Regions from separate parts of the Homo sapiens genome. Here all the other regions are linked to region 1. Evidence: promoter capture Hi-C in 16 types of primary human blood cells and fetal thymus (Javierre and others, 2016). All regions are on one chromosome and are shown on one strand. The core of a region is centred on a gene start or on the middle of the fragment in contact, and the rest is flanking DNA. Distances in the headings are between cores, read along the strand shown.

Region 1 (3,543 bases), core at 530-3,029:
TAGAAACACAATGTTTCTTTCTCTTTGAATTTGTCCACATCCATTTCTTTAAGCCTTTTCTTCAAGCCAAACTCTACCAAGCAGCTCTGGCTTCACAGGCGTGTTTACTAGACATCACAGGGAATGAGGCACCGAGAGGCCCGTTCACATGCAACGCCACCCCTGGGACAGACAGCATCACGGCCTCCTGGCACCACTCCTGCAACAGACCAACCACACTGCCCTTCTTACATGGGCCCCATCATTCATCTTTCTTCAAAGAAAACAGTACATTAGCAGTCGACACTTCAGCAAAGAACCCCCAAAACAAATGCCCTAGCCTAGATCCAAAAACAAAATTTCCGTTAAAGAAAGTGTGTTTTTCAACCAAAGAAAAATTAGGCTCAATTCTAGGACAACCTATAGCAAGCAATTCTACGTGCACTGGCCAACGCCAACAGCAGCTAGATTCCAAAACAAACTCAGCAAAAAAGGCTCTGCTCTCACCTTTTAGAGATAAGAACCAGAGTCAGCAAGCGGCAGAACCATGATTCACACCGAAGTCAACCCACTCTGTCCTCAACCCCACTGGCTTCCCCATGGTCCACACAACCCACTGTGAACAGATGGACCAGTCAGAATTTCTCTGCAACACCCAAATCGCCACCCCACCCCCATTCCCTTGGTTTAAATGCCCTGAGGGGCAGGCGACAAATCAAATTCCACTCTTAGGCAGGTTCCCAACACAAGACACATTCAGTGGCAAAGCAAAAGAGAAGATGGGCTCTACCACATATAGGTCTTTCTTACCCAGAGGAACATTTTCATGGTCTGTCATTACGGATGAACTCGGGGCAGGAAGAACCCATCATTATGTAATGTCAGAGGGCAGGCGACAGGGGAAGGGAAGCGAGACCATCAACATTCCCTTCCTTCGCCCACAAAGACACAAATTTACCTCTGACATTTTGAACGTCTGTCTTCTGGGGCCTACCCATTCCTGGCTGGCTTTTCAAGAGACAGCCACAGATCCCTGCACATTTCTCAGGCCTCAATTAATTGACTAGCAAAGCCAGAGAGAAATAAAATATAGAAAGCAAAGATGCTAGAAATGTTGTCGGGGTCTAAAGGCAGGCAGAAAATGGAAGAGTTTCGAGGATGGAGACCAGATTTCCCACACGGAGATGCATGTTTACTTTCACCCGGTTATGTTTCCACCCCAAACACGGCAAGGCCTCCAGCTTCAGGAGCCCGTAGACCCAGCCCTGGAGCCGCATCGGGCAGGCACCGCGTCTGCGTCCCGCGGCCACGCGCCCGCTCGGCACCCGGCTCCCTGCTGGGGCGGCCGCGTCTTCACGGGGCTGGGGGTCGGCCGGGCTCGGATTGTTCTCAAAAGACGCCACCGCAGGTGGACCACTGGCACCGTTAGGCAGTGCAATTTCCATGAAAACCGCGGGCGCCGTCCACATCCGCCCCAGCGGGGACCTGGACGCGCCCCCGCGCCCGCTGTCCGTCCCCGGCCCCGGCCCCCGCGGCGGCCGCGTCGCCTCCTGCCCGGCCCGGCCCACCTACCTGGCGCTCCCCGGCCCCCGGCGCCAGCCGCCCCGCTGTCCCGCCGGGCTGCGCGCCAGAGCCCCGCAGCAGCAGCAGCGCCGCCGCCTGGCTGTGAAGTCGCGGGCTGCGGGCCCGGCCTCAGGTGCTGGTCCTCCTGCCCCGGCCCACGGAGCCCGACCCGGCGGCAAACCAGCAGCGAACCCTCCACGCGCGCCGCAGCCCTAGCCAGCCGCCGCCGCTCTAGACGCCGGGCGCAGCCCCGCCCTGGCCCCGCCCCCTTGTCGCGCATGCGCGCTGAGGGCCCGGCCCGCGCCCTGCGACCCCCGCCCCACTACCAGCCCGAGCTGGGTCCGCCCTCTGAGACAGTAGGGCCGGTGACCGAGCTGCTCGCGCCAATTCCTACTGCTAGGTTCCCACAAGATCCCACCCTATCCTGTGACTGCTTCACCTGCAAGGAGTTCTTGAACTTCTGGACTTGACTGAGCGATGGCATCTTCACCCTGTCATCCACTGAGGCATCTGAGGCCCTGACGGATCCCCAAGGGAAAGTTTCCTGGAGGAGCCGCGACCCGGGGATGCGCCCCCAACCTTTTGCCCTCCGGACAAGAGCACTTCCTGAAGTGCAGACGTACTCACTCCCCAGGAGATGTTTAGGAAACTGAACATTCCAACCAGACAAGCAAAAAATTAAAATCTTAATTCTTTGAAAATACAGACTTGCAAAAAAAAGAAAATTGCTAACCTCTAAGTGTATGTCCTTCCGGACCTGTTCTGGCCTGTGTGCATAAGTGTGCACTAACAGACTTGCAACAGCATCAGTCCTTACACTTTGCCCCAAGTTTCTATTTTTCCATAGACAAAAACAATAATCAGAAGTTTTGGAAGAAAATTTTCACTTTGACTTTAAAACAGCATTTCTCCTTGAGCAAGGGCAAATACTGGACTGAATGTATCCTTATCTTTGAGTCTTCACATTTTATCCGAAAAAAAAATTCTTAAAATGATTTTAATTCAATAAACCAGAATACTTCTCAGGCAGAGCATTTAAACATATAATTTGCTTCAAAAACAAAAGAGATTAACCAGTTAGGAATGGAAATTAAGAATTCTCTGAACTCATTTAGAATTATGTCTGATCCTCCTCATGTCACCAAAATACAGACAATAGTCTGGAATAAAAATAAACAAATATAAAACGAGTTTTTTGGGGAGCCTGAGGCAGGAGCATCGATTGAGCAGAGGAATTTGAGGCTGCAGTGTCAGCCTGGGAGACAGAGCAACACCCTGTATCTCTAAAAAAAAAAAAAAAAAAAAGAAAAGAAAAGAAAAGAAAAAAGAAAAAGAAAATGTCCTAGTTTTAAATTTTTATTTCTTTACTTTTTATTTTATTTCTCTTCTGAAAAGTAACTTAGTAATAAAACAGTTCCCTCTTATTATTTCTCCAGCTAAATGGAAAGAAATATTGACAGAACCTTGACTCCACAGTACAAAGTTAAAGCCAAGAAAATCAAATTTGTAGAAATGCAAAAATATTTTTGCATTTTTTTTAATTACTGTGACCAATTAGTTTGCTTGGAACAGCCCCAGTTTACATCTTTTTGCAGCAAAATTATTAATAGGGCCCTCTTTCACTCTCAAATGTATTCCTGTTCAAACAATAAATTTTATGGCCATGCTGTTTATTTATTTATTTTTGGGATGGAGTTTCGCTCTTTTTGCCTAGGCTGGAATGCAATGGCGCGATCTCGGCTCACCGCAACCTCTGCCTCCCAGGTTCAAGCAATTCTCCTGCCTCAGCCTCCCAAGTAGCTGGGATTACAGGCATGTGCCACCACCCTGGCTAAATTTGTATTTTTAGTAGAGACAGGGTTTCTCCATGTTGGTCAGGCTGGTCTTGAACTCCTGACCTCAGGTGATCCACCCGCCTCGGCCTCCCAAGGTGCTGGAATTACAGGCGTGAGCCACCACGCCTGGCAGTCATAATCAAGCTAAGAAAGTTGTTAAACACTA
Region 2 (3,543 bases), core at 702-3,201, 740 kb before region 1:
AACAATTACGCTGTCTTCTGTAAAACAGGAAAATATCAGGCATCACAGGAGAAGTATGATCCCATTTCTATTTTTTTAAATGTCTGTGAACGTGTGTAATCACAGAAAAACTCTGGAAGGTTGTCAGAAAAACGTTAACATACCCCTGGGGGTATGAAAAAAGGCGTTTTTCCTCCCCCTTCTCCCCCCCAGCGACCGATAGTTCTTTTGTCTTTTTACAATGAGCATGCATGCAACAGGAATGTTAAAAATCGATTTCTTTTTCTAAACCGACAATGTATACAATTATTAAAGGGGGAAAAACACTTCTGAAATGCAAAACATGGAATCACTCTTGCAGAGATACCAGAGATCTCTGAAAGCTGGAAGCGTGTCTCTTCTCTGAACTCCTAGTGCCTAACAAGCAGTAGGCAGCCCTCATTACTGCCTCTTGGCAAAAAGGGCAGAACAAACAGCTTTTGGTAGGTCTCGATCAAAATGGTAACAAATCACAGTTTTAATAAAATGGCAAATATTCTAACTGCCAACTCTTGGATGTTTGCATTATAAAATGAAGCAATACAAAGATAAAGGCAATTTTCTGTCTTCATTAAAAAAAAAAAAAAGCAACCTTAATACCCAGTGGCAACCCTAAGTTATGAATAAAGCAGCAGCACAGAAAATGCTGCTTGGGTTCCCTTTCCCAAGCTGTCCAGCCTCGGCGGCTCCGTTCTTGAGCTCCAAGAGTCTGGGCACAAAAAGCCGCGTGGCCCTGGATCCTGCAAATTGGGAAACGGGGGGATCCTGCAGGCCAATGGCCTTACGGGAGCCAATGTGACGGGATCAGGGGCAGACCCATTTAGGTTGCCGTAACCGGCCAATTCAGTACGCAATAGGGAAAATCAATTAGGATCTGCAGAGGGTTCCCGGATACACCTTGCGAAGAATGCCGCACTCTCCGCCACTCATTCCCCACTCACCGGCACCCGCTAAACCTTCAGCCTGAAATTTTCCTCCGAAGGGAAGCAGAGCAGAGGAAGAACTACCAAGTGCTACACTCAAAGCCTGCCGTCGCAGTGAGCGCGACCTCCAAACTGAGGCATTTTTGTTCCGGCGAAATCCCTCCCACTCAGGAAAGTCCCTAGAAAGAGAGCGCAGGCGCCTGGGTATCACATGACCACTTCCCGGAAGCGCAGCAGACCCGCTCAACTTCATCCTGGGTTGAGGCGGAGGAGAACTTCCAGAATTATGGCGAAGTCCGGGCTGAGGCAGGACCCGCAGAGCACAGCTGCAGCCACTGTGCTAAAGCGGGCAGTAGAACTAGATTCGGAGTCGCGGTATCCGCAGGCTCTGGTGTGTTACCAAGAGGGGATTGATCTGCTCCTGCAGGTTCTGAAAGGTGAGCAATGAGCCAAGGCGGGGAGGACCTGAGGAAAAGGAGCTGGTTCCTGCTGTGTCTGGGGTGAAGTGAAAGAGTTAAAAATGATTTTTCCACACCACGAAGAAGCAGTTAAATACAGAAGGTGGGATATTCTATAGGACAACTGGGCCGCTTTCTTTTAGATCTTTAATAGATTGATGTTACCTAGAAAAGGTGGGGAGGCTACTAGTCTAGATTTTAAAAGACTTAAGAGATATAAGATATAACGCAATGTAATATATAAGCTTTGATAGGACCTGGGTTTGTACGAACTTTAAAAGACATTTTTGGATCTATTAGAAAAGTTTGAATATAGATTGGGGGGCATTAAAATTATTTTCTTAGGCAATATGATTTTTTTTCCAAAACTTTCCTTAATTTTTAGAGATGCAGACCAAAGTGTTTTAGAAAGAGATGCTATGATGTCTTTAGTTAATTTTCCTTAAGCAAAAATTTCTTAAAAATCGAAGCTCTATTTGAGCAAAAATGCTAATTTTAAAAATTTCGGTGATGGGTAATAAGGGTGTTTATTATACGATTATTTTTAATTTTCTGTTTAAACATTTGCATTTAAAGCAAGCCAAAGTAAAATTATGTAGCGGTAGAAGAAGAAAAGTTTTTCTTAAACGGATGAGGTTCGGTGTGAGAAATGCGCAGGGTTGTGGAGGAGACAAGTGAGACTTTTCGTATTATTCAATGTTGAGAAATACCCAAATATTCCTTAACACCCAGCACAACCCTGGCTCACAGTAGACACTCAATATTTATGTATTAAATTGATAAGATCAGCTCCTGCTCCCCAACCCCCGACACTCCCGGTCTGGACTAAGCTCCCTCTGTTCTTTCTAGTTTAAGCTTCTTATAATTAAAGTGTTACAGAAGCTTTGGGGCAGCAGAGGGGAGCCCTTTATGGTTTGGTGCTTTGGTCAGAACTACAAACTCTACCGGCCGGGCGCGGTGGCTCACTCCTGTAATCCCAGCACTTTTTTGGGAGGCCGAGGCAGGTGGATCATGAGGTCAAGAGATCGAGACCATCCTGGCCAACATGGTGAAACCCCGTCTCTACTGAAAATACAAAAATTAGCCGGGCATGGTGGCACGCACCTGTAGTCCCAGCCACTTGGGAGGCTGAGGCAGGAGAATTGCTTGAATCCGGGAGGCGGAGGTTGCAGTGAGCCGAGATCGCGCCACTGCACTCCAGTCTGCCAATAGAACAAGACTCCGTCTCAAAAAAAAGAAAAAATAACTGTAAACTCTACCTTGCCTGGGGCATTATTTGATGATAATGATGACAGTGACAACAGCAATAAGCATAGATATCACGTTTCAGTGCTGAGTGCCAGGCATTGCAGAAAACATTAAAAGCATGATCTCGTTTCATCCGTACCAATTGCCCTATCAAGTAGGAGTTGATGGTATTCTCGTTTTACAGCATAAAAAGTATTGTTCGCTTTCAAGTTCTGCCACTAGGAGGTGGTAGAGTCACAGTCGGAGCCCAAGGCCCCAACGACTCTGGTATACTGAATCCCAAAAGAGAGATGGTGTACTGTGTTGGTCAGGTGGAACACTGCTCAAGTTTTGGCTGCACTAGGAATCTGAAGCAGGAGAATCACAGTTCTGCTCTAGGGTGCTTCACTGATCCCGTAGAGGTTACAGAGACAATGATGTCACATAGATGGGTTAAGACCAAAATGCAAATAGCGCTAATACAGGGAATAAGTGCCAGGAGAGAGATATCTATAGATAAACGCAATGAGGATTTAAACAGTTAAAGGTCATGTGAGGGTGGAAAGGTAGAGGTGGAGTTTGATTGGGGCTTTGGAGGAAAAATAATTTCAGAAGTCAGAAATTCATCTAAGAGTCTTCAAATTCCTGTGCTGTCTTACGAAATAAGTAGTTTGGTTGAGCATGTATCTGAAGAGGAAGAGTGAGAAGTAAAGTTTAAAGGTAGATAGGGGCTTGGATCACATTGAGGATGGCCTTGACTACCAGGAGATTTTAACTTATTCCACAGGCAAGGAGAAACCATTTAAGGTTTTTACAAAGGAGTAACATAATTGGAGTTGCATTTCAGGGCTTGTCTCTTTCAGGAATGTGCTCTTTTCTCACAGATATTTATTTGCATGGCACACTCTCTCTCCTAT
Region 3 (3,543 bases), core at 695-3,194, 720 kb after region 1:
GCCTTGGAAACTCCACTCCAATTTACAGCCTAAATCTGAATCTGTATGGTAGGGTGAAAAGAGTTATTTTATCAGCCCACAACAGAATCTTGGAGAGGGAGCTGCATCTTGCAAGAGGCCTGCAGGCAATCTACAGAAACTTCACATGGGTGAGGAAAATCAAGGGATGTGGTCATTTCCTCCAAGTGGGTTGACCTCAGGAGAGGAAACAGCCCTGGGGGAGGCAGATGACCCAAGGGATCTGCTGGGCAGGGGCTCAGGCCAAGAAGCACTCACGAGAAGGAAGGCCCAAGAATTGTCCCCACAGATTTCTTGGGGGAAAACACTGGGCTTCCTGAGGTCATGGGAAAGAGGCAGCACCAATTTATCTGTGTCTTGAGGCCTGAGTGACCTCAGCTGCACCTGGATACCATCTGTTACAGAAAAGATCCCGTGTCCAAACCAGAGAGCAACAGCCCCAGCAGGGCTGTCAAACACTCAGCAGAGTTTTAAAAAGAGATTTTCAGAGATTTTTTTCACATTAACAAACTCACAAATAGCTACATGGCCTCAGCTGTGGCTCAGACACGCACGTTCACCCACATATAAAAGCTAACATTTACCGCATTTTTCCTATGTCAGTTACCATACTCTCGATTCACACGTATTAATTCATGTAATCCTCATAGAGGATCCTGAGGGGAGGTACTGCTGTCAACCACAGGACAGTTAGAGGGGGCTGCTTCAACACTCTCCCGGGGATCCCACCTCACTTGGGGGAAAAGCTAAAGTCCCCGCCCTGCCCTCACCTCCTCCCATTCTCCCCCTCACTTACTCAGCTCCAGGCACATGGCCTCCACAATGTTTCTGGAACACGCCAAATAGACTCCTGCCTCCTGATCTTTGCACTTGCCATTGCATTTTCCAGGAACACCCTTCCCCCTGAAAGCTGCACAGCTCACTCCTCAGCTTCTTTCCCTTCCTCAGAAGTCACCTTCTCAGGAAGGCCTCTTCTGACCACCTAATCTAAAATTGCAACCGCCTCCCCACCTGCACACACGGCGCTTACCACCATCTGACAGGGTCTCTATTTTATTGATTCCTTTTCTTGTCTACCTGCCCCATGAGGACAGGCACTGTGTCTTTTTGGCTCACTGCCGTGTGCTCAGTGCCTGGTACACAGTAGGTATTCAGTAAATATTTGTTGATTGAAGGAGGGGAAACTGAGGCAGGCAACCACAGTCCGCTACTTGCCCAAGGGCCACAGCCAGCAGGTGGCGGAAGCGGGATTCCAAGCCAGGCCAAGGGACCGAGTCTGGAGGCTTTCCTAGTCACTACCTCTACTTCCCCATGTGCAAGTCCCTTTGCACATCAGAAACACACAACCCACTTGCACATGTGAGCACAGGGACACCCTTACGGCCCAACTGCACACTCACGTCTGCCCCAGTCCCCAGGATCCCTGCCAACGAGCCCCAATCCTCACCGCACCCAAATCCCGGGCCCCACATACAGGAACTTGCCGTCGGTCTGCGCCCCAGAGTAAAGTTTGCGCTCGGCCTCCTCACGCGTCAGGCTGCTGTGGTACCAGGGCATCCGCTCGTGGGCCGTCGTAGCAATGAGCTTCTCCACCTGCGGGGCCTGGCTGATGATGGCCTGCTCCAGGGCCTCGCCCTAGAAAAGGAGAGGCGAGGAGGTCTGTAGGTGTGGCCAAGTGCTCGCCACAGGAACCCCCTTCCGGGAGCCCTGTCCCAGAGGACTCCCCACCCCACCCAGGCGTCCCTAGCGCGTGTTAGGCAGGTTTTCGAGGACTACCTCCGCGCCATCTCCGTGGTCCCCTCCCCAATCCAGCTAGGGAGGAACCACCCCCACCTTCCAGCGCGGCCCCAAGCGCATCTCCAGCTTGAAGACCTAATTCAGGTAGTTGTGCATGGTGGTGTCACTCAGGCTGTGGACGACTACTGCCCATCTTCCCCAACAGCCACCCTACCCTAAGGGCTCACCCTAGCCCCGCGCACCCTCCTCTCAGCCCCGCCCCCATTCCAAGCCTCGCCTTCGCCCGGCCCAGTGCGTCCCTCTACCTTCCCATCTGGCATAGTAGAGCACCATAGCATCGCTCAGCCTGCGGAAGGCGACCGCCACCACGGAGCCCCTGCCTCTGAGGCCTCCTTTCAGGTTCTTCCCCAACCAGTGCCCCACCTCTCCAGCTTCCAAAGGGGACTGAATGGGGAAGACGACCTTTTCCTCCCTCCTATCCCCCCAAAACCCTCGACTGCCCCTCTTCGGCCACGCCCCTCCAGACCCCGCGCCCCAGGCTGCGCTCTCACCTCCAGCTTCCACGTCTGGCGCACGTAGTCACGCACCATGGCGTCTCGCAGGCAGTCGAAGACCCCCGGCTGCGGCTCGAGGCCCGACGGCCGGTTGCACGGCTTGCGCAGGTTGCAGGGCAGCCCGTCGGGGTCGCGCGAGTAGAACTCGCAGAGCTCTGCCGGTCCACAGTGCGCTTTGCCGCCGGCAATGGCGTAGGTGCCGTTGAGCTGGCGCTCGATGGGAAAGTGGTGGAAGCGCACATCGTGCACGAGCGACAGCACATAGCCGCCCAGCGAGCGCAGGCACTGGCGCAGCAGGAAGAGCCCGTCCGCCATGCCCGCCAGCTTCAGGTGCTCCTCGGCCTCGGCACGCGAGATGCTGCCGTAGAAGAAGGGCAGGTGCGCCGCGGGGTCTGGCATCGCCCCTGGGCCTCCCGAAACCTGCGGGTTCACAGAGGGTCGGAGGCACGTCAGGGCCTTCCTGAACCTGGTGCGTTGGGCCCAAAGACGGCGCGAGAGACGCCAAGTGGAGGGCATCAGTGCCGCAGACTGAGCTCGCCAAGGGGGCAGAGCCTGCTCTGTGCCAGAGTCAACCTGGAGAGAAGCCGCAGCCTGCTGGGCACAGATCGAGAAGTCCCAAACCCCCATCTGACTTTCCAGAGACATTATGTGGACGCCCAAGCACGCCAACTGGTCCCCAAGCACCCACACCTGTACCCATCTCTTCATGTCCCAACCACGTGCTGAATTATTGTGTTTCAGGCCCGGTGCTGGGGATATGCACGCTTGAGGCAGGCGCGGTCCCACCCCGTCCTCCCGAAGGCAACACTCTAAGGAGGGAGAGCCGTGAGATAAACTGAGAAAGAAACAAAAATAATAATTACAGATTGAGGTCAGCATTACAAAGGAAATAAGTGGAGTGACATTAAGAGAGAGAAGAGGTGGCTCTAGCTAGGATGGTCACCTTCTCCAAGGAGCTAGCATTTGAAGGGAGAGCTGAAGGAGGAGGAGCCAACTTTTCAAAAAGCGCGCGGGACAGCGCATCAGGCAGAGAGGACTGCATGCGCAGAGGCCCTGAGGCCGCACCCAGCTTTGCTCACCCAAGGGCCCTACCCCTCAGCCTCCCTTGTCCCTTCCGCTGACCCTTTCCCCTCGGCCTTAGCAGGCACCCCTCGCCCTGCCCTCTGCCTTCCTTGGCAAGTTTCTACAGAGCATACGCTAATTGGAATATCCATCCCTAGGGGACTGGTTAAAT
Region 4 (3,543 bases), core at 774-3,273, 690 kb after region 1:
ATCATCACATTCCTTTAAGGCTCTAAATAAAATTTCAACAGCTTTGATTTTGAATTATTTTCACACAAGTAAAGTGATTTAGTTATGCTAAATTTGAAGAAAGATTCCTTTTTGTCACCAAATTATTAACTCTCAATGTAAAAAATACGCTTTAGTAATTTTGTTAGAGATGCCTTTGAGTAGCCTTGTCCTAATTTTACTTGTTCCTATTTCAAAATGCTACCACAGAGTTAAATTCACCCTTAAAATATAGACCAATCCCAGAAATTAGGTCATCACAGATGACTAAAACATTTGCTCCCACATGGGCAGGTTGGAAAAAATAAAAGAACAAATGTTTATATTGATAGTATAAATAAATGTGATTGGGGCTAGTCCACAAAATTTGAATGCTTTAGGAACAGGCTTCTAACCCTGACAAATGCCTGTAGAAGTTGGATAACAAAGACATTTTAGATGCTTTGCTATCTTAGCTATAGTAATAGTAAAAGGTCATTCAAATACAAAGACTCAGATCCTAATGGCAGTGTTTGGGCTGACCACTGTGCTAAAGAAACAAGATCAGCCTATAGAAACACTCCTGTGATCTCACCGGTCTTGAGAAATTCAGAGGCTGCTATTAGTGTCAGAACAAGCCCCTGGTTTGAAAAAAGAAAATGGGGAAAGTTCTGATGCCTTTTACATCTTAGGAGGGCCAGCTGATGTCATGAAAAAAGGTGATAGTGGAATCTAACAAAAATTCTTCATGATGTTACCCATAATTAGATAGCTGTAAAAATAAATTGGCAACAATATTAATTAAGCCAGGTAATTTTAGAGGTATTGCCAATAATGGTTACAAAACATCCCCCTGTGAATGAAATCCTGATAAAACATTTAAATGTAGACGTGAGCAGGAACTGGAGAGCTTGAAGGCCCTTCAGACCCCTCCAAGTAGACTCCATACAAATGCCTTCTGCCGTGGATTATAAATACATTCTGGTTATTGTTTGTTTATATTCACTGTGGATTGAAAATTTCCCTGCCAGAGTGACAAAAAGTGCTTGATTTTGTTTTCCAACCTGGAAAATCCCCACTTACTTCTAATGACAGAGATACTCCTTTTTCCAGACCAATGCTGTGGTTTGTTTGGCCCTGCTGAGTCTCTTGTTGAAATATGATCCCCAGTGTGGAAGGTGGGGCTTGGTGGAGGGGATGGAGCCCTCGTGAATGGCTTGGTGCCATTCTCATGGGACTAAGTGCTCACCCTTAGTGCCCACAAGAACTAGTTGTTGAAAAGAGCTTGGCACCTTCCCCCACCTCCCTCTTCCTCCCTTTCTCACCGTGTGGTCTGCACGGGGCTCTCCTTCACCTCCACCAGGAGTGCACCCAGCCCAAGGCCCTCAGCAGAAGCCAATGCTGCTGCCTCTACAGCCTGCAGAACCCTGAGCCAAATAAACCTCTTCACACATTACTCAGCCTCAGGTGTTCCTTTACAGCAACACAAAGGGACTAAGACATACTGTTATTAAGAAACACTGAAGTTGTGCCTTTAATCCAGAGATTTCACTGTCCTTGTTTTCTCCAGTCCTCTAGAAAAACAGAACTAATGGAATTTTTTTAAAAATAGCATACCTCTCAGAAACCTCCAAAATTCTACATCTTAAGAAATTACCATTAGCATTATACGATCAACCACCTCTAGGTCCCATGTTGCTTCTTATGAATTCATAACATGCCACTGTATACAGTTTGAAGCTTCATCCCATCTTAGATTCTACATGATTACATTTTATTTCCAGCTTTATCTCAACATAAATATGAACTATACAGTATATCCAAAACACACCCGCCTCTACGTGATCTACAGCTTCTGTACAAAAGGCACACAAAGACACGAAATTTATTGCTATTATAATAATATGCTCCCCATACGATCTGTGCTTCAGTGGGACACTACATCTTATTAGCCCATGTCAGGCTTATATTGGTCTGCCACACACTCATGTATATTCAGAGTGGTTAGATATGTTCAGATATTTACAACACCCACGTCTCCAGTAATCCATTCTTTGAAAGAATACCCAGCAATCCAGCGTAAAATTATCATAGATGATTCCAAAACCTTCCAGTAGCGATCCTTGATTTGCTCTTCATGCATACTCTGCAAACTCCAGTTCCCACCAAAGGAATAAAACGACTAGAGAGAGAGTTCAAAACTAGTTGGTAATTTTAGCTGAAGCCATAAACGAGACCACTCTGCTCTGAAAGTCCAACCGACTAATCTAAGTCCATTCTTTAGAGTTATCAAGGACAGTCATATAAGCTTTATTTTCCTCTTAGCCAGCAAAGGGACAGGTCATGCCATAACAAATACTCCTTTTTTATACCTAGAAAAACACCACAGGGGAACAGGACAGTTTGTGACTATTAGAAAAAGCCTTGACCTCTAAAGCCAACCCAGCTGGCTTCTGGAACATGCGCCCATTACCTGGAGGCGCTCTAGGCCCTTGTCTTGCAGACCTGTTACGAGGACTAACAGTCCTTGCGTTTCTCGTAATTACCTGTAAATGGTTGGCTAGTATCTCCTGTCTAGAGTTTTAGATGGTACTGCACACCATTTCTTTCATCATGCGATTCAACAACTCGCTTTACAACAGACAGGAAAAAACTGTTAACTCTGGTGTAACTATAGACTGCGTTCATTAGACACTCTTGAGCCAGCCTCCACTCCAGAGCAAACCCCTGACTCCATAGACCCACCCCCCAAATAAGCTAATAACCAAGGCCCACATCCTACAATTGCTACTTCCTGACACCCTCTTAGGAGACACCCCAGCTCACTGTTGTTTGGGTCCCCCTTGCTGCAGGGAGCAACAAGCCCAGCTGCTTTAACTGCGGTGCGTTGCTGCTGCACTGCGGGGAAGGGCGTTGACCATTTGGGTGTACACATGAGTGCAGTGGCATGGATGAGTGTGGCCTGGGTTCCAGTCCTGGCTCTGCCATTTACTGATCATGGCCCTTGGGCACACTCTGCCCCTCTCAGAGCCTCAGTTTCCCTATATGCAAAACAAACATCCTCAGGAGGATGGTGTGAAACATGAGGCCAAATAAATAAGTGGTAGCACTTCCTATTGTCTGTTACTGTGGTATTCCAAAGACATTTCCCAGTGTTAAACCCCTAGAAATGGCAACTTCCTGATGGGGATGGAACTCATTTGGCAGGGGGCATGAGGCCACCAATCTGGAGCCTCCTGAGCTCCTTGCCACTGCCTGGGGCCCCTCCTCCCACGCCCTCATCCCTCCCACCCTCACCACTGGGTCCACCGCCAGCCTGGGCTCCCGTTTGCCTCAGCCCCGCCTCTCAGCAGAACTGCGGCAGCATGTCCAGGGACAAGGTTCTTAGAGGGACTGGATTTGGACCATTCCTCCCAGCCAGATATTTTGCAGCAGGGAGAGGAGGCTGCATCAGATTCCTATGCCCACAAAGCACCACCTCCTTTTCCAGTTAAGGCAATGTGGGGCTGCAAATTTTCATGCATTCAGGATCCTTCTGTAACTTAA
Region 5 (3,543 bases), core at 742-3,241, 670 kb after region 1:
TGCTGGCGAAAACCAGGTGCTGTTTTGATTTGGCCATTTGGCTGGCTGGTTGGCTTTTAGGGGAGTTGATAGCAAAATCCAGGTGCTACGTCACATTCCTCTTGGGATTTTTCTGTCACCTGATATGTACTGTTGTTGACTCGGAATAGCCATATGCTTCTCAAGTCAGATATGCAGAGGGCAGAGCTCACGATCTGTTATAAAAATTTAGGAGGAAAATTTCTGTTGGTGATTCAGTCCCAGGCTGAGATCCATTTTACTTCTGCACAAAGATGACCTTGACGATTGAACCACAGGTACAAGCATAACTTTCCTCCAAAAGATCTCTGAGTCTGTCGAATTGTTAACCCAGTTGGGATCTAGAGTTCCATGCCATAAAACTTGGAAAAGTTTATTCTTACCTTAAAAATGGTTCAGAGCAGGTGTCACCAGTCAGACGGTTCTACCATTAAATAACTCCAGTTCCTCCCCATGGAATGGGATTCAGTGGCCCCCGGGGAGGGCTTGTGCAGGCTGTTTCCCCAGGGAGATGAGTGAGTTGAACTGTTGGGTTATTAACTGAAGTTACTTCACATTTTCATTAAACCTTGGCTCAGCATCTACCTGATAATTTTAGTGTTGGTGCATCAGTAATACCTTTCCTGGTTCATTGTATAGAACTGTCATCAGCACGGGAGCTGCTGTCTACCCGCTTGTGGGTTGTGATCAGTAGAAAGTGACAGAGGAAGTCGAATAAATTAGGTGTAAATTTAAAAGGAAGACATGGCTTGTCTGTCATCATAAGTGTGGGCCATAGATTTGTGGAAGGTCTATTCTTACTCTGATCCTGGGAATCATACTTGAGTTTTGCAAAAACACCACTAACCTAGACTCTGTCCCTAGATTATATGGCTTCAGGCAGGGCCAGTCCTGTTCTATAGAACCCAAAAGCTAGTAAGAAATTAGTGATAACTGCAGTAAAATTTAACCTTGTCCCTGAATTTATGAAATAATACAGTATATGGTGGTGCTTAGTAATGAAGTATTTGTACCTAAAATTTACTCTTTTGTGGCAATTGTTAGTTCAAGTGACCAGGTCCCACAATTTGTTGAGAGCAGTCTGGCCCAGGTAGAAGGAACGTCAAGCAGAGTGGTATCAGGTGGTTGATCATTTGAAGGGGAGAGAGAAAAGGAGACCACCTCTTCTGAAGAGGAGGTTCACATACTTGGATCTCTCCTGAGAGAAATCCACCTGAGACACCAATATCCTGGCACCCAGGACAGGAATAACACTGGGCTACTAGCTAGAGATTCTTCTTCTTGGCCTTTTTCAGGCTTAGGTGAGTGATCAGATATTTTAAAGTAAATGAGGCTAATAAGTCCAAATAATGAAAATCCTCATTTTTACATTTGCAGAAATCTTGTGAGGTAGACAGACATGCAGTAATTCCTATGATGATAAATTTTAAAACCAGTGCATCTAAGAATTATCTTAGAGGTACCATTCCATAGGTGACTGTCACCAAATTGGCCCTGTTGATTAGCCCTCAGGCCTGAGCTTAGTATTGTTAAGCAGATAGAACACACTAATCCTAACCCCCATCCCTGTTCCACTGACTTACATTGTATTCTGATTTTTTTTACAAGTTGACCATCAGCAAATTTGCATTTGAAAAGTTAGTCAAAGACGTCGCTTGAGTGTCATTACCTTTGCAAGGGTTTTTAGTTCTCTTGTAAACCAAAAAGCTTAGAGTGGTCAGTCCTGAACCGCCTAGTCAAGGGGCAGTTATAGCAATAACCGGTGCTCTCTCAATATGTAGTTAAAAGATAAATCATTACCAGAACACAAATCAAGCCGTGTGCTTGAAACTGTCTTTTGTAACTGGAGAAATCTATATGCAACCTTTCTTCTATCCTCCTTTATCTGATCTCTTTAAACTCACTGATCTCTTGTTTTTCTGAACTCGAGGATGAAAGTATTGAGTCAGAATTTATTAGTTCATCAATCATTTAATCAAATAAAGACTGGTTTTTTTAATAACCGGAGAAGGTTGGCTTTCTGAACAGAGCCATTCTGTGACTCCACTGCATTCTGATAATAAATGTCAAACACTGTCACTCAGAATCACAGCCAGTACTAGCTTTAGTGATTCCTGAAATTCCTGTCACCTTTTAGTGTGTTAATATATAACCCCACATGTCTGAAGGACAGGTACACATCTTTTAATAAGATATGTCATTAATAAGGCATATATCATTGCTGTCTTTCGGAAGCTTTGTGAGAGGTGATAAAGCCAGAGGAGTGGCTCAGCCCCATCCATCCACACTCCCAAGAGTTGACCTCAAAAAAATCACTTGCTAGGAAATAGGAGGGTGGGGCTGCAGCAACAGAAATCTGATCTAACCGTGTTTTCCAGCTGTGGCAACATAGAAATGGGCCTGCAGACCTCCGGAAAACTGTAGTCTATGGCAGAGATGCCAAGGAATGGGAATCAGATCTCAGGCACTGAAGGTTTCTGCAGAACCAGGAAGGGCCCAGGGCATCCCTGGTTTAGGACCCTGAGTATTCACTGATCCTTTTGTTTTTCTATTTGTTTATCAACAGTATATGTTTACATAAATGTAATAATCTAAAATAAGCAAAAGAAGTAGATTAATCATATTATCTGTAAAAATCTGCTTAAATAACACTCTCAACTCAGGCCCAAGGGCTGTGAACACCACACTGCACACGCCAGCCCCAGACCTGTCAGCACTCAGAAAACCCTGCTCCACAGCTGGTCATGTCCCTAGCTGTGTCCTCAGCTCTGCCTCTCTCCTCCCCAGACAGAAATGTGTACTGTGTATTACAGGAATAAAAATAGGCCAGGCTTGAGTCAGGTGTAACGTTGTGAAAAGCAAAAATAAAAAGAATACGAAATCTCAGAATATTAAGAAAAAGAAAAACATTATTATTAAAAAATGGAGGAAAATATATTATAAAAATAAGCCAGGTGTGGTAGCTCACATCTATAATCCCAGCACTTTGGGAGGTCAAGGCAGGAGGATTGCTTGAGCCCAGGAGTTCAAGATCAGCCTGGAAAATATAGCAAGACCTTATCTTACAAAAAGTTTTTCTTTTAAATTAGCCAGGTGTGATGGCACACACCTGTAGTCCCAACTACTAGGGAGGCTGAGGCAGGAGTTAGAGACTGCATAGAGCCCAGGAGTTAGAGACTCAGGAGTTGAGCCCAGGAGTTAGAGACTGCAGAGAGCCGTGATTGCACCACTGCACTCTAGCCTGAGCAACAGACTGAGACCCTGTCAGTAAATAAATAAATAAAGCCTGGCATCTGAACCACCTGTTTTTCCTTTTTAAAAAGAATCACTTCAGTCTGGGCACGGTGGCTCACACCTGTAATCCCACTGTAATCCCAGCACTTTGGGAGGCCAAGGACGGCAGATCACCGGAGGTCAGGACTTCGAGACCAGCCTCACCAACATCGTGAAACCCCATCTCTGTTAAAAATACAAAAATTAACCAAGCATGGTGGCACACACCTGTAATCCCAGCTACTCAGGAGG
Region 6 (3,543 bases), core at 618-3,117, 640 kb after region 1:
CTAGAATACTTTGAAATTACCCCTCTTGCTGCAAGCCTCGTATTGTGCTATAAATATTTCCTTATAAGTTGGCCTCCCCAGTGAGAGTCTGAGATCCTCTAGGAAACGGATGAGAGATCGTTTCTTCCCAATAGCAGGCACTTAGTACATAATGTATGGATGAAGGAACAAATGATGGAGAGGGAACATAGGCAAGAGACATTGCAGGTGAATCATTTGAACTGTGCTTATATCCTAAAGAGGTCATACAAACTGAAACAAGTATGGGGAGGAGGGTGGGTAGAGGAGGCAGGAATATGGCTTAGAGTTTGAGCCTGGAGAACAAAGACAAAACAAATGAGAAAACCAGGAGAAGATGCTGCCTTTTGCAAGAAGATGGTGCAGTCCATTCAGGAATACCAGGGCAGATGTAAAAGTGTCTCACATCCTAGTGGTAGGAGACAGTAGTGGGTTAAGAGAAACAAGACATTGCAAAATCTTAATGCTGTATGCAAGTTGAGCATCCCTAACCCAAAAATCTGAAATCCAAAATGTTCCCAAATCTGAAACATTTTGAGACCACAAGTGGAAAATTCTACACCTGACCTCTTGTAACAGGTTCCAGTCAAAACTTTGCTTCATGCACAAAATTATTTTAAATGTTGTATAAAATTACCTTCAGGCTATGCATATAAATGTATATGAAACATAAATGAATTTCATGTTTAGACTTGGGTTCTGTCCCCAAGATATCTCATTATATATATGTAAATATTCCAAAAAAAAAATCTAAAACACTTCTGGCCCCAAGCATTTTAAATAAGGGATACTCAACCCTTACAGTAAAACCTGAATTCAATATTTAACTCCTTAAAAATACAAACTTTGAATTACTAGTTTCATCACATTTAAGTTTGGGTCTTAATTAAATCCTCATCTTCCTGTCATTCCACTTTGTACTGACTATACTAAACTCTTCGTTATTTATCCAAAAGAGCCATGTTTCTTCCTTCCATTACCTTCTCAATCAATGATGTCCTTAATCTCTGCGTAAACTCTGGCAGGGAAAAGTTCAGTTCAGAAGACAGCAGATGACACAGTGAAAAGCCCCATGAGTGGAATAAATGAGAAAGCATGTGTATAAAAACAAGATGTTGGTCTGGATCCATTTGTGTTGCTATAAAGGAATCCCTGAGGCTGGGTGATTTATTTTTAAAAAAGAGGTGTATTTGGTTCACAGTTCTGGAGACTGTGCAGGAAGCATGGCCCCAGTGTCTGCATTGGTGAGGGCCTTAGGCTGCTTCCACTCATATTGGAAGGCAAAGAGGAGCTGGCATGTGCAAAGATCACATGGCAAGAGAGAAGAGAGGGAGGTGCCAGGCTCTTTTTTAACAACCAGTGGTTGTGTGAACTAATGGCATGAGAACTCATTACTACGAGGTCAGAACGCACCAAGCCATTCATGAGGGATCCACCCCTGTGGCCCAGACACCTTCCATAGGGCCCCACCTCCAACACTGGGGATCACATTTCAGCATGAGATTTAGAGGGGTTGGTTTTGAACTGCTTCAGATTAAGCTTTCAGATATCTCTAGGAGGCTTACAGGACCAGATACTTGCTTGGAATTCTAAATTACCTCTATATTACCAAATCCTGTCAATCTCTTTATCAGATGGAGAATACTAGAGCTTACTGGAAACAATACCTCAGAATAAACATTTCATGTAACTCATAGCTTAATATTTGAATAGAATTGTGAGAGCAGCATTTATATCTGTGAGCTCTTTTGATCCCCCACACCCCCAAGAGACAAGGCACGAGGGAAGTAGTTATTTCAAGTACGCCAAGTGCGGTGACTGCCCGAGGGCTCCTGTCGGCATTGCAGCTGCATGCCCGCCCTCTGCTGGCTGTCGGGTGTTTTAGCCTCACTGGGCTGTAAATGAGGAGCGCTGGCCTCAGTGTCACAGTCATTGCGCCCTTTTTCCTGTGCACGCTCTTCACTTCTGTATTTTTTATTCCAAATATTTAAAAAGTGGGTTTAATCATTTCAGAGACCTCTTCAAATGAGTAGGAATCTACAAAAAGTAAAATTTTGTATTCAGCCAAAAGAAAGATTGTAATATTCTTCTGGAGGATTACGTAAATTATTTAATTTTTTAATTTAAAATTTGGTACCCTGTCACAGACAGAAGCTTGTGACTGGTAAGAGCAATTGCTGGTTATTTAACAGTTTTATTTGTGTGCTGGGGTTTTTGTTTGTTTGTTTGTTTGAGATGGAGTCTCACTCTGTCACCCAGGCTGGAGTGCCGTGGTACGATCTCGGCTCACTGCAGCCTCCGCTTCCCGAGTTCAAGTGATTCTCCTGCCTCAGCCTCCCCAGTAGCTGGGACTACAGGTGTGTGCCACCATGCCTGCTAATTTTTCGTGTGTATTTTTAGCAGGAACAGGGTTTCACCATGTTGGCCTGGCTGGTCTCGAACTCCTGGCCTCAAGTGATCCACCCACCTTAGCCTCCCAAAGTGCTGGGATTACAGGCATGAGCCACTGTGCCCAGCTTGTGTACTGTTTTAATAAGATACTTGACAACCCATAATTTCAAAAGATGTGTAATTTCTCTTTGATACAAATGACATATATTTTTCCTAATGAAGAGACTTTCTTTTAAAAAAAATTGTGATTTTGTCCCCTTTGGCTTTAGATTTTAGAATTCAGTGATTTCAGGGCATTCTTGCCTGGGTGTAAACAAACCTTGCTTACCAAACTGAAAGTAACCATTCCCTTTATCTAAAGCTATCTCTGTTTGTACCTTTGTTGGCATCCTCAGTATCTTAACATGAAAGTGTGAATGTTAACGTCAATCAGTTGTCACAAGATTGCAAAGATTTGTCCTCCTGATTTTTCTGTAACATGCCACAGCAAGAAAAAAAAGTTTTTTGGTGAGGTTTTTTGGCTGTTGATTACAATTTAAAGATTATCAATTGATGAACATTCTAAGATGTCTTTTGGGCTTTGGTTTCCTAGAAGTATGCTTGTCTACTCTGAAACTTGTGATCTTAAGAAAATTTAACCATATACAAATGAGTTTGTTCTTTGCTTTCTTCCTTCAGGGGAAAATAGTTCATCAAAGTTTAAATATTATGAATTCCTTCTCACAGAAGGTAAAAATACAGCAAATACGATCTTTGTCAGAAGATGTGCGATTTTACTATAAACGATTACGGGGCAATAAGGAAGACTTGGAGCCAGGAAAAAAATCAAAGGTTTGAAGATATTATATTTGAGAATTCCCATTGGTTAACATTTTGTTTTATGACCTCCTGTGGATTTGGGATTCATGGTTCTCCTGTGCCTCTTTATAGATTGCAAACATTTATTTTGATCCTGGACTACAGTGTGGGGATCATTGCTATGTTGGCTTGCCTTTTCTATCCAAATGTAAGTGACCTTGCTGTTCTCTCTCATGTCTTCACTTCCCCCAAAATACTCTTTTAGTAAGAGGCCGCCACTTTTAAAGTACATTGCTGTCTTTTGTTACTATAGAAATTATTTGAAGGAAAATTGAC
Region 7 (3,543 bases), core at 300-2,799, 630 kb before region 1:
GAAGAGGTGGTGATAAATTGGGGTTTAGGAGTTGTGGGACAGAAGGAGTGAAATGCTTTTGTATGAGGGAGAGACACCAGGAAAATGCCAAGTTTCTGGCCAGGGACAAATACTGAACATGAAGAAAGTATGAGGAGAAAAAATGATTTTACCTCTGAATTTGAAGAACCTTTGGGACCTTATTGTAGACATGTCTAGTAAGCAGTTAAATATAAGTCTGGAGTATAACAGAGGGTCTAAAACTGGAGATAATTATTTTGGAGTCATTGGATCTAGATGGGGTTGGGAACCATGGATATGAATAGAGTTTGTCTGAGAGAAGGGTTAGAGTGAGAATAATTGGGAGGCTAGGGCTTGAGCCCTGAAAAGCATTAATTTTTAAGTGGGCAGAGGAAGAGGAATCTGTAAAGGAGACTAAGCCATAACAGAAGTAGGATGAAAGCCTTCCTAATACTTGATGTAAGAAGTTTTGAAATATTTGGCAAATCATTGACTATTATGTATACTTTGTATCCTTTTCATAGCGAAATGATGGCAACATTGAGAAACTCTAATGCACTGTCTTTGCAGTATTTATTCCTATAAATTCAAACGTGTTTAAAATCTCTTCAAATGTTTTCATACTAACTGTCCATCTTCTGTCTTGTGAGAATTTGTTGCTCTGTTTCAGTAAAATGTCTCTTCTTATGTACTCTTTGATTTGTGGAATAGACAGTGTACTGAGGCCCTAATTGTGTGTGAACAAGACGTTTCCAGAATGCGTCGGCAATTGGATGAGACAAATGATGAGCTGGCCCAGATCGCCAGGGAAAGAGATATCTTGGCTCATGACAATGACAATCTCCAGGAACAGTTTGCTAAAGCTAAACAAGAAAACCAGGTACACTTGTTCCTAGAATCATTTTCTCCAAGAAAAAAAAATATGAATTTCTTGTGAGGAACAGCCCTCATTTTATTTTATAGAAGAGCTCAGACACTGGAACTAGCCTTTTCTTTTTTTTAAAAAATAACAAAATAGGCCACATAATTTTTAAATGGAATTCTCAGACACAAAGGGTTAAATATTAAAGAAAAGAGAGAACAGGGCTATATTTGTATTAAAGCTTAGTACTTCCTTGCTGAAGGATAAATATTTGAATAATCAAAAAATGAGAATAAAAACCTTGAGAAACCTTAAAGAAAAGAATAGGTGTTTTTTTTTTAAAAAAATGGACTACATATTATTCTGTTTTAAGTATGAATGTATGGACTGTGCCTTGTTTTTTGGTTCTCATTAGCACTGTGATTCTTTTTAGGAAAGTTCCTCTTATAATTACTCTTTCTCCCTAAGGCAATATATTTAAGTCTAATCTGCAGTTCTCATTTCCAATAACATTTATTTTAACGTGAACATTTAAAAATCCTATTTGGAAAATTTCTTCCCTTCTCAAAATTTTTAAGACCAAATGGTTTTCCCCACTTTGTATCACTTTCAGTGTGTTTAGTTTGCATCCTGAAAGTCTGTGTTCTTTAACTGTTGAAGATTATTAATTTACTTAAACAGCTATAAAGCTGTAATACTTTGTTAATCATAAAAAATTATCTGAGATGTTAAAGTATTTTGTTTAAAAGTAAATGAATAATGGGATCCTGGAATAGAAAAAGGACATTATGTAAAAAAGGAAAGAAATCTGAATAAAGTATGGACTTCAGATAATAATGTGTCAATATTGGCTTATTAATTGTGACATATGCACCATACTAATGTAAAATGTTAACAATAGAGGTGCCCTTTATAATGTCTTCACAACTTTTCTGTAAATCTAAAACTATTCTAAAAGTTTATTTAAAAAATTAATGAATAGCAATAAAAACCAAAACATGGGAATTTGTAAGGTTTGCCTTTGTGTACTCTTTACAGCTAGAGCATATGGGCTAAAGGTGGATATATCTTATTTATGAAAACCTAGAAATTTAGTTTCTATTTTTTTGATTGGTTTAGAAATAGAAGCTTATTATAGAAAGTCTTTTTTCTAAACAAAAAGTTAAGAGTTTAGAAAAGCCCCCATGTTTTTGATACTCAGTTACTGTTATATTTGACATATTTTTTTAATTGCTATACAGTGCACTTAAAAATTTTAACACTATTTTTATACACATTTTCTAATGTAGTGGGATAAAATCACCTATCACTTTAGATCATGCTTTTTTCTACATGAAGAGGCAGTAGAGTCGAGTAAGATTCACATGGGTTGAATCTTGCTCTCTGCGTGTGTGATCATATAAACCAACTTCTCTGAGTCTCTGTAGCATCTGTAAAAATGGTTAATAAGTGAGACTATACCTGGAAAGCACTTACTGTACTGTCCAGTATATCACTCAATAAATATTTTATAGCTATTATTAGCTTACTATAATATTGTAAGCATTTTCCTGCCTTGTTCAAACTTTGTAAACATTTTTTATAATCAGAAGAAAACTGTTGTCATAACAATTTACATATGCTCAAAAGTAGTTTTTTCTTCGTTATGGTCATAGGCCCAAGGTAGAAGAGAGGTCTCTCTCTGTGGACCACAGGTTAAGAACCAGTATTGCAGAAGACGAGAAAGTGGAAACTTAAAAAAAATTTATCCTTGATACCACAATTTTTAACAAATTGGGATAATGAGGTATTTTTGTGTTTTAGCACGATTTTTTTTTCACTTAACATAGGCAAATATTTCCCTGTATTATTAAAAATCATTCCAAACATTTCTCACAGGTATGTAATATTCCATTATGTGGTTATGCCACTATGTAGATATACTATTATTTACTGCATGATTCACTTAATGTGAATAAATATTGTCACTGTAACAAATGCCTTAATGACAGCATCTCATTAAATTTTATTAGATTTCATTTCAGAGTGAATCACAGATTATCAGGTTTCTTTTTAATTATTATTTATTTATTTATTTATTTATTTATTGTAGAGTTGGGTTCCCACTATGTTGTTCAGGCTGGTCTCAAACTCTTAGGCTCAAGTGATCCTCCCAAAGTGCCAGGATTACAGGAAAAACACCCAGCTGAGGTTTCTTTTTTAAATTAAAAAAATGTAAATAGACATTTTCAAATATAATGAATCCCCATGTGCCATTTCCCACCTTCAAAAATAATCAACATTTTTGTCTTTCTTGTTTTTATGAGCATTTAAAAATTGTCTCTTGATACATCACCAGATTCCTGATCACAGATTTGCTTTCTGCAAATCTACATTTACTCCAGTAGTACATGGAAATGCCCATTCTTTACCATAGCTGAATAGCTTTAAATCTTTATTAATTTGATAAGCAGAATAGTAATGTGTTGTTTTAATTAGCATATCTTCAGTTGCTAGTAGAGTTTTTTTCAGGTCTTACCTACTTATGCTTCCTTTTTTGAATTGCTTATTTGGGTCATTTGCCCACTTGCTATTGGGCTTATGTGTTTTCTTTTTTTATATGAGTTTATATATTAGGTATGTTAATTTTATTTGTTCCAAGTGTTTAAAAATTTGTTTATGGTATTTTTGAGATATAGAAA

Evidence for each region. The method cuts DNA at HindIII sites, captures the fragments that hold promoters and counts their contacts. A CHiCAGO score of 5 or more calls a contact.
Region 2: a fragment that was not itself captured here is called in contact with the fragment with the promoter of INPP4A in region 1 in 2 of 17 cell types (naive CD4 T cells and naive CD8 T cells); the score reaches 6.9 in naive CD4 T cells.
Region 3: a fragment that was not itself captured here is called in contact with the fragment with the promoter of INPP4A in region 1 in 1 of 17 cell types (M1 macrophages); the score reaches 5.3 in M1 macrophages.
Region 4: a fragment that was not itself captured here is called in contact with the fragment with the promoter of INPP4A in region 1 in 1 of 17 cell types (monocytes); the score reaches 6.9 in monocytes.
Region 5: a contact is called between a fragment that was not itself captured here and the fragment with the promoter of INPP4A in region 1, in 1 of 17 cell types (M1 macrophages). The highest score is 5.9, in M1 macrophages.
Region 6: a contact is called between a fragment that was not itself captured here and the fragment with the promoter of INPP4A in region 1, in 1 of 17 cell types (naive CD8 T cells). The highest score is 6.0, in naive CD8 T cells.
Region 7: a fragment that was not itself captured here is called in contact with the fragment with the promoter of INPP4A in region 1 in 1 of 17 cell types (naive CD4 T cells); the score reaches 6.3 in naive CD4 T cells.

Annotation. Positions count from the first base shown.
Region 1 is chr2:98,443,094-98,446,636 of GRCh38, reverse strand. INPP4A (inositol polyphosphate-4-phosphatase type I A) reads right to left here and starts at 1,779. Exons shown (of 25, transcript NM_001134225.2): 1 at 1,552-1,779. RefSeq lists a silencer at 1,310-1,949. The HindIII fragment of the contact is 7,361 bases long and covers 1-3,543 here.
Region 2 is chr2:99,178,666-99,182,208 of GRCh38, reverse strand. It overlaps MITD1 (microtubule interacting and trafficking domain containing 1), which reads left to right and starts at 1,151. Exons shown (of 7, transcript NM_138798.3): 1 at 1,151-1,378. The coding sequence starts at 1,228. It overlaps MRPL30 (mitochondrial ribosomal protein L30), which reads right to left and starts at 1,025. Exons shown (of 6, transcript NM_145212.4): 1 at 960-1,025. RefSeq lists a silencer at 644-816 and enhancers at 1,034-1,083, 1,104-1,333, 1,344-1,483. The HindIII fragment of the contact is 610 bases long and covers 1,647-2,256 here.
Region 3 is chr2:97,723,202-97,726,744 of GRCh38, reverse strand. ZAP70 (zeta chain of T cell receptor associated protein kinase 70) reads right to left here. Exons shown (of 14, transcript NM_001079.4): 3 at 2,307-2,729; 4 at 1,493-1,653. The coding sequence starts at 2,708. Among named protein-coding and RNA genes, the nearest start is that of ZAP70, 11 kb to the right of the region's middle. RefSeq lists an enhancer at 1,882-2,472. The HindIII fragment of the contact is 4,563 bases long and covers 1-3,543 here.
Region 4 is chr2:97,749,576-97,753,118 of GRCh38, reverse strand. It overlaps a transcript of ZAP70 not described here. Among named protein-coding and RNA genes, the nearest start is that of ZAP70, 38 kb to the right of the region's middle. The HindIII fragment of the contact is 568 bases long and covers 1,740-2,307 here.
Region 5 is chr2:97,768,710-97,772,252 of GRCh38, reverse strand. The region is part of intron 33 of TMEM131 (transmembrane protein 131); the gene reads left to right. Among named protein-coding and RNA genes, the nearest start is that of ZAP70, 57 kb to the right of the region's middle. RefSeq lists enhancers at 1,113-1,625, 1,626-2,139. The HindIII fragment of the contact is 528 bases long and covers 1,728-2,255 here.
Region 6 is chr2:97,805,248-97,808,790 of GRCh38, reverse strand. It overlaps TMEM131 (transmembrane protein 131), which reads left to right. Exons shown (of 41, transcript NM_015348.2): 20 at 3,088-3,240; 21 at 3,340-3,415. Among named protein-coding and RNA genes, the nearest start is that of ZAP70, 93 kb to the right of the region's middle. The HindIII fragment of the contact is 615 bases long and covers 1,560-2,174 here.
Region 7 is chr2:99,069,043-99,072,585 of GRCh38, reverse strand. It overlaps TSGA10 (testis specific 10), which reads left to right. Exons shown (of 21, transcript NM_025244.4): 14 at 712-880. Among named protein-coding and RNA genes, the nearest start is that of C2orf15, 71 kb to the left of the region's middle. The HindIII fragment of the contact is 887 bases long and covers 1,106-1,992 here.